Regions from separate parts of the Homo sapiens genome. Here all the other regions are linked to region 1. The links are contacts of gene promoters, found by promoter capture Hi-C in blood cells and fetal thymus (Javierre and others, 2016). All regions are on one chromosome and are shown on one strand. The core of a region is centred on a gene start or on the middle of the fragment in contact, and the rest is flanking DNA. Distances in the headings are between cores, read along the strand shown. Region 1 holds the start of FZD5 (frizzled class receptor 5). Region 2 overlaps NDUFS1 (NADH:ubiquinone oxidoreductase core subunit S1). Region 3 overlaps FASTKD2 (FAST kinase domains 2).

The links. The method cuts DNA at HindIII sites, captures the fragments that hold promoters and counts their contacts. A CHiCAGO score of 5 or more calls a contact.
Region 2: a contact is called between a fragment that was not itself captured here and the fragment with the promoter of FZD5 in region 1, in 1 of 17 cell types (neutrophils). The highest score is 6.5, in neutrophils.
Region 3: a contact is called between a fragment that was not itself captured here and the fragment with the promoter of FZD5 in region 1, in 1 of 17 cell types (naive B cells). The highest score is 5.9, in naive B cells.

What each region holds. Positions count from the first base shown.
Region 1 is chr2:207,768,656-207,773,485 of GRCh38, reverse strand. It overlaps FZD5 (frizzled class receptor 5), which reads left to right and starts at 3,580. Exons shown (of 2, transcript NM_003468.4): 1 at 3,580-4,221; 2 at 4,492-4,830. The coding sequence starts at 4,747. RefSeq lists silencers at 748-1,223, 3,280-3,959, 4,300-4,359, 4,770-4,829 and enhancers at 1,695-2,515, 2,680-2,729. The HindIII fragment of the contact is 9,976 bases long and covers 1-4,830 here.
Region 2 is chr2:206,146,295-206,151,124 of GRCh38, reverse strand. It overlaps NDUFS1 (NADH:ubiquinone oxidoreductase core subunit S1), which reads left to right. Exons shown (of 19, transcript NM_005006.7): 4 at 1,200-1,307; 5 at 2,029-2,105; 6 at 3,291-3,372; 7 at 3,464-3,594; 8 at 4,037-4,222. Among named protein-coding and RNA genes, the nearest start is that of NDUFS1, 11 kb to the left of the region's middle. The HindIII fragment of the contact is 5,047 bases long and covers 400-4,830 here.
Region 3 is chr2:206,767,001-206,771,678 of GRCh38, reverse strand. It overlaps FASTKD2 (FAST kinase domains 2), which reads right to left. Exons shown (of 12, transcript NM_001136193.2): 2 at 4,209-4,678; 3 at 1,485-1,588; 4 at 389-497. Among named protein-coding and RNA genes, the nearest start is that of FASTKD2, 3.7 kb to the right of the region's middle. RefSeq lists an enhancer at 781-1,980. The HindIII fragment of the contact is 2,931 bases long and covers 1,334-4,264 here.

The DNA.
Region 1 (4,830 bases), core at 2,331-4,830:
TAGAGATGAGGTCTCACTATATTGCCAAGGCTCGTCTTGAACTCCTGGGCCCTAGTGATCTTCCTGCCTCAGCTTCCCAAAGCGTTGAAATTACTGGCATGAGCCACCTTGCCCAGCTGAAATAAGTTTCTTTCCATAAAGTTCTCTGCTATCACTATTATTATTAGAGATCTCCAAGTAAAATTAAGATTTTGCTGTTGATGAAGAAAAGGTTTACAAACCAGTAGATAACATTGTTTTCTTCAGAACCTTTACTGGAAAAGGGTCCTGATTCAGACCCCAAGAGAGGGTTTTTGGATCTCATGCAAGAAAGAATTCCGGGCGAATCCATAGAGTAAAGTGAAAGCAAGTTTGGTAAGAAAGGGCCGAGCGAGGTGGTTCATGCTTGTAATCCAGCACCTTGAGAGTCCGACCGAGGCGGGCGGATCACTTGAGGCCAGGAGTTCCAGACCAGCCTGGTGAACATGGCGAAACCCCGACTCTACTAAAAATGCAAAAAATAGCAGGGTGTTGTGGCGTAGGCCTGTAATCCCAGCTTCCTGGGAGGCTGAGGCACAAGAATTGCTTGAACCTAGGAGGCAGAGGTTGCAGTGAGACGAGCTTGCACCCCCACTGCACTCCAGCCTGGGCGTCAGAGCAAGACTGTCAAAAAAAAAAAAAAAAAAAAAAAAAAAGAAGGAAAGGAATAAAGAATGGCTACTCCATAGACAGAGCAGCGGCATGGGCCGCCGGTTGCCCATTTTTATGGTTATTTCTTGATCATATGCTAAACAAAGGGTGGATTATTCATGAGTTTCCGGGAAAGGGGCGGGCAATTCCCGGAACTGAGGGTTCCTCCCCCTCTTAGACCATACAGGGTAACTTCCTGACGGTTGCCATGGCATCTGTAAAATGTAAACTGCTTTGGCATTGGTGGGAGTGTCTTTTAGCATGCTAATGTATTATAATTAAGTTACAATAAGCAGTGAGGACGACCAGAGGTCACTCTCCTGGCCATCTTGGTTTTGCTGGGTTTTTGCCGGCTTCTTTACTGCGCCCTGTTTTATCAGCAAGGTCTTTATGGCCTGTATCTTGTGCTGACCTCCTATCTCACCCTGTTGACTTAGAATGTCTTCACCTCCTGGGAATGCAGCCCAGTAGGTCTCAGCCTTATTTTACCCAGTCCCTATCCAAGATGGAGTCGCTCTGGTTCAAATGCCTCTGACAGAACCGTGTGAAATAACACAAATATTCTGGCTAAATTCCAGTGTGAGTGATTAACATTCTCCAACTTCAAATAATTTTTATTATTAGCCAACACTTGTCCATCCCCAGTAATACACACGTTGCATAAAGAGCACAGAATGAGATGGGCCTCCCTTGGCATGTTCATAGTCTGCACATACTTTCCACTGAGGGCTTCCCTTTCTTGCTCACTGCTATGCCCACAGCTTTTCAACTCCCACTATTTTCAACCCTGGGATGCTTCCTGACCCAGAGTGGCAAGTAATTCCAAAACACAAGAGATAAAATATGAACACCTGTAGAATTCCAGAGAAAGAAAGATGTAAGGTATATTTATTCATTTATTTAATTATGTATTTTAGAGTTGGGGGTCTTGCTATGTTGCTCAGGCTGGTCTGCAAACTCCTGGGTTCAAGCCATCCTCCCACCTCAGCCTCCCAAAGTGTTAGGATTACAGGCGTGAGCTATGGCGCCCGGCCTTTTAAACGTTTATTAATAGTTTTGATATCCGCGAAGTGATTGATATTTGTTCCTTTTTAACTTGGAGGCTGGGATTAACACACGTGTTCTTCATTATTGCCCACAAAGCGTTGTTGATACGCAGGAGGGGAGTGGCACTTCCGCAATTTATTCTTCCAACCTGTGCCAATGGGATCCAGCACAGGAGATGGACAGTAACCCGCGGTTGATCTGGATCTAGTCCAGTTAGTCCAGTCCCTATCCCTTCAAGTGTCCCCAGGCCCTCTTGCCTATTTTCGCCCTTTGCCCAGTGGAAGGAAAAGTTTGGGGAGAAGGAAAAAATTTAAACCCTCTTCCTAGGCGTGTGAATGTATTTCAAGTATGCTAAATACCTCAGTCTTCCAATCTAATTACAACACATAGAAAAGAGGCATTTTTAGGACATTTAAAACTTGTAGCATAATTGCGCAACTGAAGAGCGCCGCCGTGTCCCCGCCATCGGTGCGCCCTCCGACCCCCCGCGGCGCGCAAGTGCGCGGCTTAGCAGCAGGCAGCCGGGGACGGAAGGGCACGGGGAGGCCGGCGCCCTGCCCAGCACAGAACCCTGGGTCGGTATCGCTTCTCTCTGCGGGCGACTTCGGAACTGCCTGGGATTATAAACCTCGACCAATAAAGGACTCACATCTTTCTGGGTCTTCTAAAGGCAGAAAGAAATCCATTTTCTTGTCACAACAAGATTTTGTTAAGAGATGCAAAAGTAAAGGTCGAAGCCAGGGAGGCTGCGATAGTATGGGGGGAGGGGCGGCTACGATGGTGAGTGCCGCTGACCAACTACCTGGGTTCGAATCCCAGGGTTGCCATTTGGGCGGCTACTATGTGCCAGGTGATCGGAATACGGAGGTGAACTTGCTTGCCGAGGTCGCCCTTTCTTGGGGGAACTATGATTAGCTCGGTTGCCTTGGCCAAGTCTCAGTCTCGGTTTCTTCACCTGTAGGAAGTACCTGCCTCAGAATTGTTGTAAGGAGTGAGATCTTGTCTTAAGATGTAAACGGGCCGGGCGCGGTGGCTCACACCTGTAATCCCAGCATTTTGGGAGGCCGAGGCGGGCAGATCACGGTGTCAGGAGTTCGAGAACAGCCTTACATGGTGAAAGCCCGTCTCTACCAAAAATACAAAAATTAGCTGGGCGTGGTGGCGGGCGCCAGTAATCCCAGCTACGCAGGAGGCTGAGGCAGGATAATCGCTTGAACCCGGGAGACAGAGGTTGCAGTGAGCCGAGATCGCGCCACTGCACTCCAGCCTGGGAGACAGAACAACTCGTCTCAAAAAAAAAAAAAAAAAAAAAGGATGTAACCGATTAACACTTTGTTGGGCACACAGTAAAGGGCTCAGTAAGTATCCTCTCTTCTTTCACACAGTTCCAAGACAGCTCGGAAGGGAGACAGCCACGCCTAAGAGTGATTCCTTGAGCAGTTCTTTCAAAGAAGCACTGAACTCTGTAAGGACGCTTAGCTGCAGGCAGAAAGGGCAGGGGCCCTGGGAGCAAAGGTGCATAAGCCAGGAAGTTACAGGAGCGAGTCCTGCACCCAGGGCGCGGGCAGAGAACTCCGGAGGGACTTCTGGCAAGGGCTTCCCGCCCGGGTGCCCAGAGCGGCATGATTAGCATTCGCCCCGCCCCCATCTCCTCCAGGCCCGCGATTGGTCAGCGCTCCTTGGCTGCCCGCTCCTGGCGGGGCCAGAGGGCGCCGGGGGAAAGGCCGAGCCCGCGGGGCAGTGGGCGGGGACGCGCGGAGAGCTTGGCGAGGCGGCCCACCAACCGCGCCCGGGCCTGAGGGGGCGGAGCCGGGGCGGGGCTTCCCGGCGGGCATTAGAAGCAGGTGACCCGGGCGGGGCGGGAGAGGGCAGCCAGCCTGCGGCCGTGAGTCCGCTGTGGTCGCCGCCGCGCGCGGTTCCGTGCTCGCCAGAGGTGGGCGAAAGGGTGCGAGAGCGCGGGGGAGGAGCCGAGCAGGGCACGTCCCGAGAGCGTCGCCACCGCCCCCAGGAGTCCACTGGAGCGCGGAGCCCCCTGCAGGGGAGGAGGCGAGCGGCGGGCGGGACGCGGCGGCCGGCGCTCACCATGCAGTCCCGGCCTGGCCAGCGCCGGCTGCTCGCGGTGCTGTGAGGCGGCGGGGTCCCACGGCCCCCGCCTCCCGCCTTCCTCCCGCCCAGGTGCTGCCAGGCGCGCTCGCCCTCCGTCCGGCTCCCGGCCCCGGGGAGAACGCACGGCCTGCCCCTGCCCGGCTCCGTCTGGATCATGCGGGGGGCTCCCGAGGAGGAGAGGGCGAGTGACCGGCCTGCGCCGCCCCTGTTCTGGGGGCGCCCCCCACTCTGAGTCGCCCCCACCTGCTGCCATGTGCCGCTGCCACGGGTACCCAGCCTGTCGCTAAACTTTCCGGGCGCCAGCCCGGCTCTGAGTCGCGCTTCTCAGCGGAGTGACCCAGGGACGGAGGACCCAGGCTGGCTGGGGACTGTCTGCTCTTCTCGGCGGGATCCGTGGAGGTGAGAACCTTCCCTTTCTCCCTGTTCTTCTCCCGTTTCCTGTGCCCTTTTCCGGGAAGCTGAGGGTTCTGGTCTCCGGGCACTGCCTGAAGGGCCCAGCTTGGAAAGAGAGGGTGGGGGAGTCGGTAGTTTGGTTACAGGAGGCGGAGCGGGGAGGAAAGGAAAGGGGTTAACTTAAGAGATTTGGAGACAGCTCGCGGGGACCGAACTGTTGACGCCTCTCCAACAGGGAGTGGTTGCAATCTTTCTTCTCCCCCTTCTTTTTTAAAGAGTCCTTTCCCTGGAATCCGAGCCCTAACCGTCTCTCCCCAGCCCTATCCGGCGAGGAGCGGAGCGCTGCCAGCGGAGGCAGCGCCTTCCCGAAGCAGTTTATCTTTGGACGGTTTTCTTTAAAGGAAAAAGCAACCAACAGGTTGCCAGCCCCGGCGCCACACACGAGACGCCGGAGGGAGAAGCCCCGGCCCGGATTCCTCTGCCTGTGTGCGTCCCTCGCGGGCTGCTGGAGGCGAGGGGAGGGAGGGGGCGATGGCTCGGCCTGACCCATCCGCGCCGCCCTCGCTGTTGCTGCTGCTCCTAGCGCAGCTGGTGGGCCGGGCGGCCGCCGCGTCC
Region 2 (4,830 bases), core at 1,674-4,173, 1.6 Mb after region 1:
ACTGGAATAAGAGACAAGGAAAAAGCATTTTGTATTATTGGGACAGGATACTACAAAAGCCCTAAAATAGATAGTGTCAATGGGAATGAAAACAAGAGAGTAGATTCAAGGGAGAATGAAATGTAGACAGGCCTTCAGGAATGATGAAGACCCGAGGGATTTTTTCCCCCGTCGTACAGAACTTCCCAATATTGCTTTAACAGTGAGAAAAAAAAAACACAAAAGAAGTTTCAGTAGAGCCACAGACAAATAGTTCTTTAGAACTCAAAGAGACCGGAGGAATTCTTGTGGTTTTCTGCATTTGTTAGGTTATTTTGGAGTGTATAGAGGGGAGAGAAATCATTTGAATTTAAGCTGTCTGTGGAACATACACATGCAAATACCTGTAAATCTGAAGCTTGGAGAAGTGGAGGTCTAACATGGCTGCAGATTAAGGTTTGGACATAATCAGCATAAGGAATGTCAGCTAGGATGAAGGCTGGGACACTATCTGTCTTTTTCACTACTATACCTGCATCCTGCACAAAGGAAAGACTCAACACATTTTTGCTAACTAAATAGTTTAAACACTGGAAATTGATGAGATTGCTTTAGAATGAAGGCTGAGGATGAGGAACTAACTCTAGAGGAAATTTGAACATGTTTATAGACTAAAAGGAGGAAGAAATTGCAGAGCAGGGTAGGTGATAATTGGCAGAGCAGGGATAATCCCCCTTACTGGGCAAACAGAAACTGGGAAAACCTTCAGCCACAGTGGGAGGTGAGTCCTGGGTAGCATATAGGAGCCAAAGACAGATAGCCAGCTAGATAATGTGTAGTGAAATCTCTAATCCAAAGGAGGGGAGCGAGGCAAAGAAGAAGTCCAGGTATGAAACCACTGGGGACATTGTGGACAATGGTTCAAAATGGATGTGGGAAGTCAAGTCTTCAGCACAGTGGAAGGATACTTTATCCAGTTTCTTCCACATAAGGTGAAGTCACGCCAAGGATCCTGAGATCCTCTGAGGCAGCTTCAGAGGAGACGGGTTAGAATCAAAGGCAAAGAAAGGGACTGAAATAAGAATGAATTAAGATAGATAGATAGATAGATAGATAGATAGAAGTAATAAGATGCTGTATGTGTGTGTTTCAGCAATAACAGCAGTGAAGTCAGGTTATTCTAATGCTTTTTTTTTTTTTTTTTTTTTTTTTACTTCTAGGCTTGTGAGAAGGTTGGCATGCAGATCCCTCGATTCTGTTATCATGAAAGGTTGTCTGTTGCTGGAAACTGCAGGATGTGCCTTGTTGAAATTGAGAAAGCCCCTAAGGTACTTGATACCTAAAATTCTACACCATGCTGTAGAAGGTAGAAAACTTTAAATCTTGCAGCAAACTTTATTTAGAATCAATATCGTAGTGGAGAACCTAGCCCTCTTTACTTCTATCTATAAATTTAATTCTTTTGTACAATTGATTCTCTTCATTTCAAAACTGGAAACACATAGATAGAAGTGCTTTACAAACACATGTCATATAATTGTAACATATCTAGAAATTAAAGGTGATTTATAGTTGTCAGTATTTCCAAATGGCTGTATAATATATAACCAGGATGTAGAGTTGCCAAGTAGCACATTAAAAGTGCTGACGCCCTGCCATTTTTAGTAGAGAAAAGGGTTGCAGGGAAGAAGTTCACTTTCAGTAGTTTAATTTCATTTTGGTGTATGCAATTTTTTTATTCAATAGTGCCTGCTAATCAAAGCAGTTATTTGGTGTTCTGTTTCAGAGCAGAATAAAAAATTGCATTGACTATTAGAATAAACCTAAAAACCAGGATGTTTTATTTCTGAGATAAATGCAAAGTACTAGATCATCGTATTATGAATATGAAAACTTAACAAAATTCAGTTTTAAAAAATACCCTATTCTTTGCCTGTTATCAAATGTATAATTTAATGTTTTTATATAATTTAACATTTTTATATATTGAGTTGCTTGTAATCACAAATAAATACAAATACACATTTTTTTTTTTCATTGAAATCCCAGGTTGTAGCTGCTTGTGCCATGCCAGTAATGAAGGGTTGGAATATCCTAACAAACTCAGAAAAATCCAAAAAAGCCAGGTACTTTATTGTTATTCAATGTAGTACCCTTTCATAAAGCAGAAAATTGCACATTTTGGTATTTAGACCTTCCCATAGATTAAGAATTTAATATCAAACTCGGAAGAAGTTGGTGTGCTCAGCTTCTAGGAGCAATAGAAGTGAGTACTACATAGTAGAGAAGGTGAAGTCAGGAGTTTATGGTATTGAGCTTTAGGATCAGCATTAAAAATCCTTCTTTAGTAACTTGCTCAACTTGTGAAGAAGGGTGAATCTGGACTTACTAAGCTACTACTATACTATACTGGGATTGATTGTGTTTGTTTTTATTTTGAATTAATGTGAATATTTTCTGAGGACCATTCAGCAACTTTTGATCATTCGGTATTGTTAAAAGTTACAATTTTCTTTATTTTTTGAAACGAGGTCTCACTATGTTGTCCAGGCTGGGCTTGAACTCCTGGCCTCAGGTGATCATCCTGCCTCAGCCTCCCTCCCATAGTTCTGGGATTACAGACGTGAGCCACCAAACCTGACCAAAAATCATAATTTTCTATGTTCTCTAATGATACTTTATTCTAGGCTCCTCTAAGCATTTTCCAGATTGTGTGTTTAATACTACCAGAATGATACTCGGGAGGATCACTTGAGCCCAGGAGCTCGAGTCCAGCCTGGGCAACATAGCAAGACCCCGTCTCTTAAAAAAAATATTACCACAATGATAGATAATTGGCATTTCTGATATTAAATGTAAAATTACTATTAATTGTATAACAAATATACATCTATGAAGGTTGTTTAAATGGCCTATATGTGGGCCTGGCACAGTGGCTCACGCCTGTAATTCTAGCACTTTGGGACGCCAGGGCGGGAGGATCACTTGAGGTCAGGAGTTCGAGACCAGCCTGACCAACATGATGAAACCCTGCCTCTACTAAAAATACAAAAATTAGCCAGGTGTGGTGGTGGGCATCTGTAATCCTAGATACTCGGGAGGCTGAGGCAAGAGAATCGCTTGAACCTGAGAGGTGGAGGCAGGAGGCTGCAGTGAGCCAAGATTGTGCCACTGCACTGCAGCCTGAGCAACAGAGCGAGACACCATCTCAAAAAAAAAAAATAAAGTCTATAGGTCATTTTGAGTGCCAGCAGTTAATGTCAGTGTGTGTGTATTTGAGAGTCATTTTATATGTTACAATTTTCATACAGGGAAGGTGTGATGGAGTTCTTATTAGCAAATCACCCATTGGACTGTCCTATTTGTGACCAGGGAGGTGAATGTGATCTGCAGGTATGTAGTAGAATTCTGTCAATCTTTTTGGTTGTCTCAGATTTTAATTTTATTAGCAGCATGAGATTGACTCTTTCATAATCTACTTAAGGACCAGTCCATGATGTTTGGAAATGATAGGAGCCGATTTTTAGAGGGGAAGCGTGCTGTGGAAGACAAGAACATTGGGCCATTGGTAAAGACCATCATGACAAGATGTATACAGTGTACTCGCTGCATCAGGTAACTTTTTTTCCTTTTTTTTCTATTATAGAATATAATTGTATACTTAATAGTCACAATTTGATGAATAATAACATTGGAAAGAATGGCTACTTTTTTTGGGTGGGAGAAGAGGGATGCTGTTTCTGATATATGAATAAAATAAGTTCACTTTCATTTAGTACCAACTTCAGGTGGATTTAAAAATTAAAATCTATAAGCATTTGCTTTCACTCATAACTTGGTGAGTTGTACACATATGATTTGTACAAGTTTCTGCCTGTGTGTTACACCTCAATTAAATGCAAACATTTCATTATTTTTTATTCTAGGACTGTGCTCACCTTTAAAAATATACTCATTTCTTTTTAGTGTTTGGAAAATCATCTCTTTGTGATCATGAATAAGAAAGGAAATAATTTTGCTGGACTTGACCATTGATGACACATTTTTTATCTTGTAGGTTTGCAAGTGAGATTGCAGGAGTAGATGATTTGGGAACAACAGGCAGAGGAAATGATATGCAAGTTGGCACATACATTGAAAAGATGTTCATGTCTGAACTGTCTGGGAATATCATTGATATCTGCCCTGTAGGTGCCCTAACCTCTAAGCCCTATGCCTTTACTGCCCGGCCTTGGGAAACAAGGTATCTTTTATTTTATGACAATTTGTTTTTTTGTCCTTAATTCATTACTATTCAAAAAAATATTAAGGTTCATTTTCTTCCTGGGTTTCAGTTGTTTTGGTCTGTTGACTTTGTTTGTTTATGTAAAACCCTTTAAATAGAAGGTAAGTAGTTAGAATGGATTGAACCTGTGCAAATTAACTGTAGTTTTCTTGGAAATTAATTCTAAAGTACTCAACCACAAAATTATTTTTTTCATGTGTTCTTCCAAAGAGTTTAATAGTGTTGACATTTTAAATGTATAGTCTCCCATGTTGTTGTTTATTAAGTTTTCAACTATGAGGAATGTCATTTAGCCAGTTTCTGCTAATAGACATTTAGCTTGTATATTTCTTTATGATTACAAATCTGTAAAAAATATTGCTGTTTACACATTTCTGTGTATATCTCTCATTCTCCTGATTAAACCAAGAAATGGAGTAGATAGATGCAAGAGGTGTGATTATTTTTAAGGTTCTTAAAACATAACAAATTATCATCCAATTTTAAACTTTATACTTTTCAACTTGGGATTTGGCTTTTTGTTTCTGTGTAATTTCTGTGTCCTTACTGAGAATCTCTACTTGCTG
Region 3 (4,678 bases), core at 1,550-4,049, 1.0 Mb after region 1:
TTTTTTTTTTTTTTTTTTTTTTTTTGCAGAGACAGGGTCTTGCTCAGTCACCCAGGCTGGTCTCAAACTCCTGGGATCAAGAGATCTCCCTGCCCTTGACATCCCAAAGTGCTGGGATTACAGGTGTGAGCCACCATGTCTGGCCTAAACATTTATTTTTAAACAAAAAGGATGAAGTTTGGGTAATATGACCCAGACAGATAAATAAATATACATGTATATATATACAGATAAATAAATATAAGGGTACTTCTATTCATTCACTTTAGTGAAGCTAAACCTAAAAGCCCAGCAATGTCCTCCTAGAAAATTGACTTCAGGCAGTGATAGCAGGTTATAAGAAAGATTTTTTCAAATCTCATCCACTAGAGAAAATTCATGTGTTTACCTCCAGTTTCCTCTTAAGAGCAATCGGTGCATCTTTTCCAATACACTTCATCACAACTTGTAATGTGAAGACATCTTCTATTTTCCAAACTTGCTGATCAACTAGTATTCTGTTATCAAACACAATAAATATTAAAATCATAGAATCTTCAAAGCAGAAGAAAAATCTTAAAATTTCATTTGGTCCAGCCCCTTCTTACAGGCAAGGATTATGAAGCCCAGAGAAATGATCTACCTGCTTGAGAGAGTGTAAGTAGTTAAAGATCGAGACCCAATCTATTAATAGTGCTATTTTCTCTCACATTATTGTGCTGTCTTTACTAAAGAACAAATTATGTCAGGAGATTATAGTAACATATCCTATGCATAGTCAATGTCAAAGGGAGTTAAGTTTTACTCTCACTAATCTATGACATTAGATCATTTATATCAATTTTATAAATCCCTTTTCAAGCTGGGTCAACGTCAACCCTCACATAGTCCCCGAATAACTATTCTGAATTAAATATACATATCAATTCTCTCCTACCCCGCATCAGTACTATTTTTTTTTTTTTTTTTTGAGACAGAGTCTCGCTCTGTTGCCCAGGCTGGAGTGCAGTGGCGCGATCTCAGCTCACTGCAAGCTCTGCCTCCTGGGTTCACGCCATTCTCCTGCCTCAGCCTCCCAAGCAGCTGGGACTACAGGCACCCACCACCACACCCGGCTAATTTTTGTATTTTTAGTAGAGACGGGCTTTCACCATGGTCTCGATCTCCCGACCTCGTGATCCGCCTGCCTCGGCCTCCCAAAGTGCTGGGATTACAGGCATGAGTCACTGCGCCTGGCCAGTACTATGTTTTAAAATAAATTAATTTAGATTTCAATGTTACTCACATCTTTGTTATTATGGACCCTAAGAGAAGTATTTCCAGCCTATGTCATCCAGAGTCAGGATTTTAAGCTTAATAAGGTATGAAAGACTGTAACTACCAACAAAGCCTCCCCAACCCCTCCTCCCCTCAAGAAAGGAGTTTAGTTTTCATCTCAATTTTTTTATTCCAGATATATGAGGAACAAAGAAAACCACATGAAGAAAGCATAAGAGAGTTCTCACCTGAATCCCGTTCGTAGAACATGAACATTCTTGCATGGTTCCATTGCCTCTAAAACAGTTGACAAAACTGAAAGGCATATCTCATCACACTCATTGATACGTTCCTATTGAAATATAATTACAAAAACACTACAGGTGATGAGCCCATAGTAAACTATCTTACCCAAGCAAAACCACTGAACTGATGTACTGAATAAAACGATTGAGTATCAAACCAACAATTCCTACAGTCAGTCCACAATAAACAGCATCTTTGGGAAATAAAAAGTCATACTTACTGAATTTTCCAGCTGACTGATACACATCCTTTTATGCATCAACACTTTTTTACCTTCACCATTATCACTGAAAACACATTTGATATTTATTATATTCCACTGCTTCTGAAACAACTTTTATTAAACATTATTTTTACCTCTTCTTGGAATTCAAGGTCATTACAAAGGCAAAAACAGTTAAAGTGCAGGAATATAAGAACTACTGAAGTACAGAAGGTAACTAGCCCATCTCTAAAGATCCTTAAATGGTTGTGCCTTTACAATTTCCCTAGATCCTTTCCTGGGTATCAAGCTGAAACTTTACTTGTGAGTCTTCTGATTCACATCTCCTGCCACATTCTACCACTGCTATCTGGGTCTCAAGGGAAGCCTACACCCCACAGATTCTTCTTTCAGGTCCCTTTACTTAGGGTACTAAGTTTGATTCCAGAAATAGTGGGCATAATCTGGAAAGTGAATAGTAACAACACAGCTTAACTAGCAGTACTCTACAGTTTAATCACTAGTCTATAAACCTCACAAAAAATCACATCTGAGGAAACTTAGCCTGAAGAGAGAGAAGCTCTTTTGCTAAAATTACATAACCAATGAATCACAAAGTCTTAAGTCAGAACCAGGTAATAATAAGAAATGGTTATGGTTAGAAGAAAAAAAAGGTTTCTTTCCTATGAAAGGGTTTCCTTAACAATTTTACAGCATTCCATCCATATCTACTATGAAAGAAAAGACCACTTGTCTATGTGTTTGAAGGGCAAATTCATTGATGGCACACTGTCCTTTCACCTCTAAAATGTCTTTACATTATTCCAACAGGTCAGTGAGACACCATCATCCATACAGATGTTTTGACTACAAAAATCTACTACTCATACCTCACCAACACAGATGTCATCCCGATGCAAATATCTGTCCAAAATCTAGTAAGAGCATCACTGACCAGGTAAGGTGATTTATTAGTCACTTTTAAATAACTACATAGGAACTAATACACAGCCTACAAATAAACAGGGATATTCTGTGGTTTAAACAAATACACACACATACACTAAATAAAAATTAGTTATTCCTTAAGGACATATGGAAATCACAGTAATGTAAAAAGTTAAAAACTTTCCCATAGCTATGAACCCAATTATTGAATTCTATAGCAAGACAGGATATATGCCAGATTATCCCCAAGGAATTCCTGTCTTTTAAAAAATTATTATTATTATTTTCAGACAGGGTCTGGCTCTGTCACCCAGGCTGGAGTGCAGTGGCACGATCATGGCTCACGGCAGCTTCGACCTCCCAGGCTCAAGTGATATTCCCACCTCAGCCTCCCAAGTAGCTGGGACCACAGGCAAGTACATCACACCCAGCTAATTTTTGTATTTTTTGTAGAGATGGAGTCTCCCTTTGTTGCCCAGGCTGGTCGCAAACTCCTGGGCTCAAGAGATCCTCCTGCCTTGGCCTCCCAAAGTGCTGGGATTACAGGTGTGAGCCACCACACCTGGCTAAGAAATTACTTCATTATCACTGAGTTTATACGTCAGAAGTGTACACTCTTAAAACATAAATGATTAACAAGCTAATCCTTCCTTCCTTACATTTGGCACCATTTCAGTGACATTAAACAGGACACTGACATTCTTGCTTTAGACTAAAAATGGCTCCCTCCATCCAATTTTAACCTTCTTCCAATACATCTTCCACTCATTCAGTGATCTAAAATACAAATTTGAGCACGTCAACCCATTGCTTAAAATTCTTCAACGGATTCCCATTGCCTACAGGATAAATGCATACTCCTTAGCTAGCCGTAAGAGGCTCTTTATGATTTGGTTCCTATTTTTCTGGCCTCTTGTTCTGCCCCTAAGCCTCTTGCCCCTCACTCCTCTCCTTTGATCGCCATGTACAAAACTTGTTCCCACCCACTCAAACATACAACTCCATCATTCTGTGCTTCAGCTACACCAAACTACTTTCAGCTCTTCAAATTTGCCAAACTTTTCCTCTGGGAACAGTAGGGCATGCAATCCTCTCTACTTGAAACACCATCCCCTTCACTATCATTCTGCTCATCAGTTTAGGTATCATCTACTGGGCCTGAATTCCAATTCTACCATGGACTAAATTCTCTTCCTTCCCCTTCCCTTCTCTCCTTCTTCAACTACCCAGGCTTTCTTTGTATATCTTGCATCTCTCCTCACTTTAGCTTCTTCACCACTACTCAACCCTGGGGATGGTAAATGTGGAAGGCTTTCATAAATTTCCATAGCAAAAGGAAGAAAATAGCTAACTTAAGGCCTCTAAATCATATAATATATATGCAGAAATAAATATAAAGGAAACTACCATTCCATTTGATAGTCTCTTTTAAGAAGGCTACATATCTATATCCCTTCATTCTTTCAAAATATTCTAAATCAAGTAAATGCATGTTTAAATCTCCTTTTTATTTTACCTGGGTCACCCTCAGCAAAGTCTGCACCAAAATAGTGTTCTGAGGGATTCCAAGCTTCACTATGGCGTGAAGACTGAACAGTAGGTACTTATACTGCATGATCTTGGCTTCTCTCATCATATGTTCACAGAGCTGATTAAATGCAGGGTGGCTAAACATCAGTCGTTTTTCAAAGCGCTTCTGGTCATCAGACAGTCTTTTGGCAATTGTCCACATTGCTGTGAAATAGTTGCTACTAGGAAATGTGGGCGCTTTTGAAAATGCATCTAACACATCACTCAGGGAATTACATTCCTCAGACAGTTTTCTACTGCTGATACGGTTTGGTTTTGTTTCCTTGGTAAGAACATCTTCATTGGAGACTTCATGATTAAGGTTTACTTTCTTCAATTCATCATCAGATTTATCAACAGGGACAAGAGACTGCTTTGAGTCAAAAAACAGTCTTTTAGCATAAAGTAGTCTTTCAA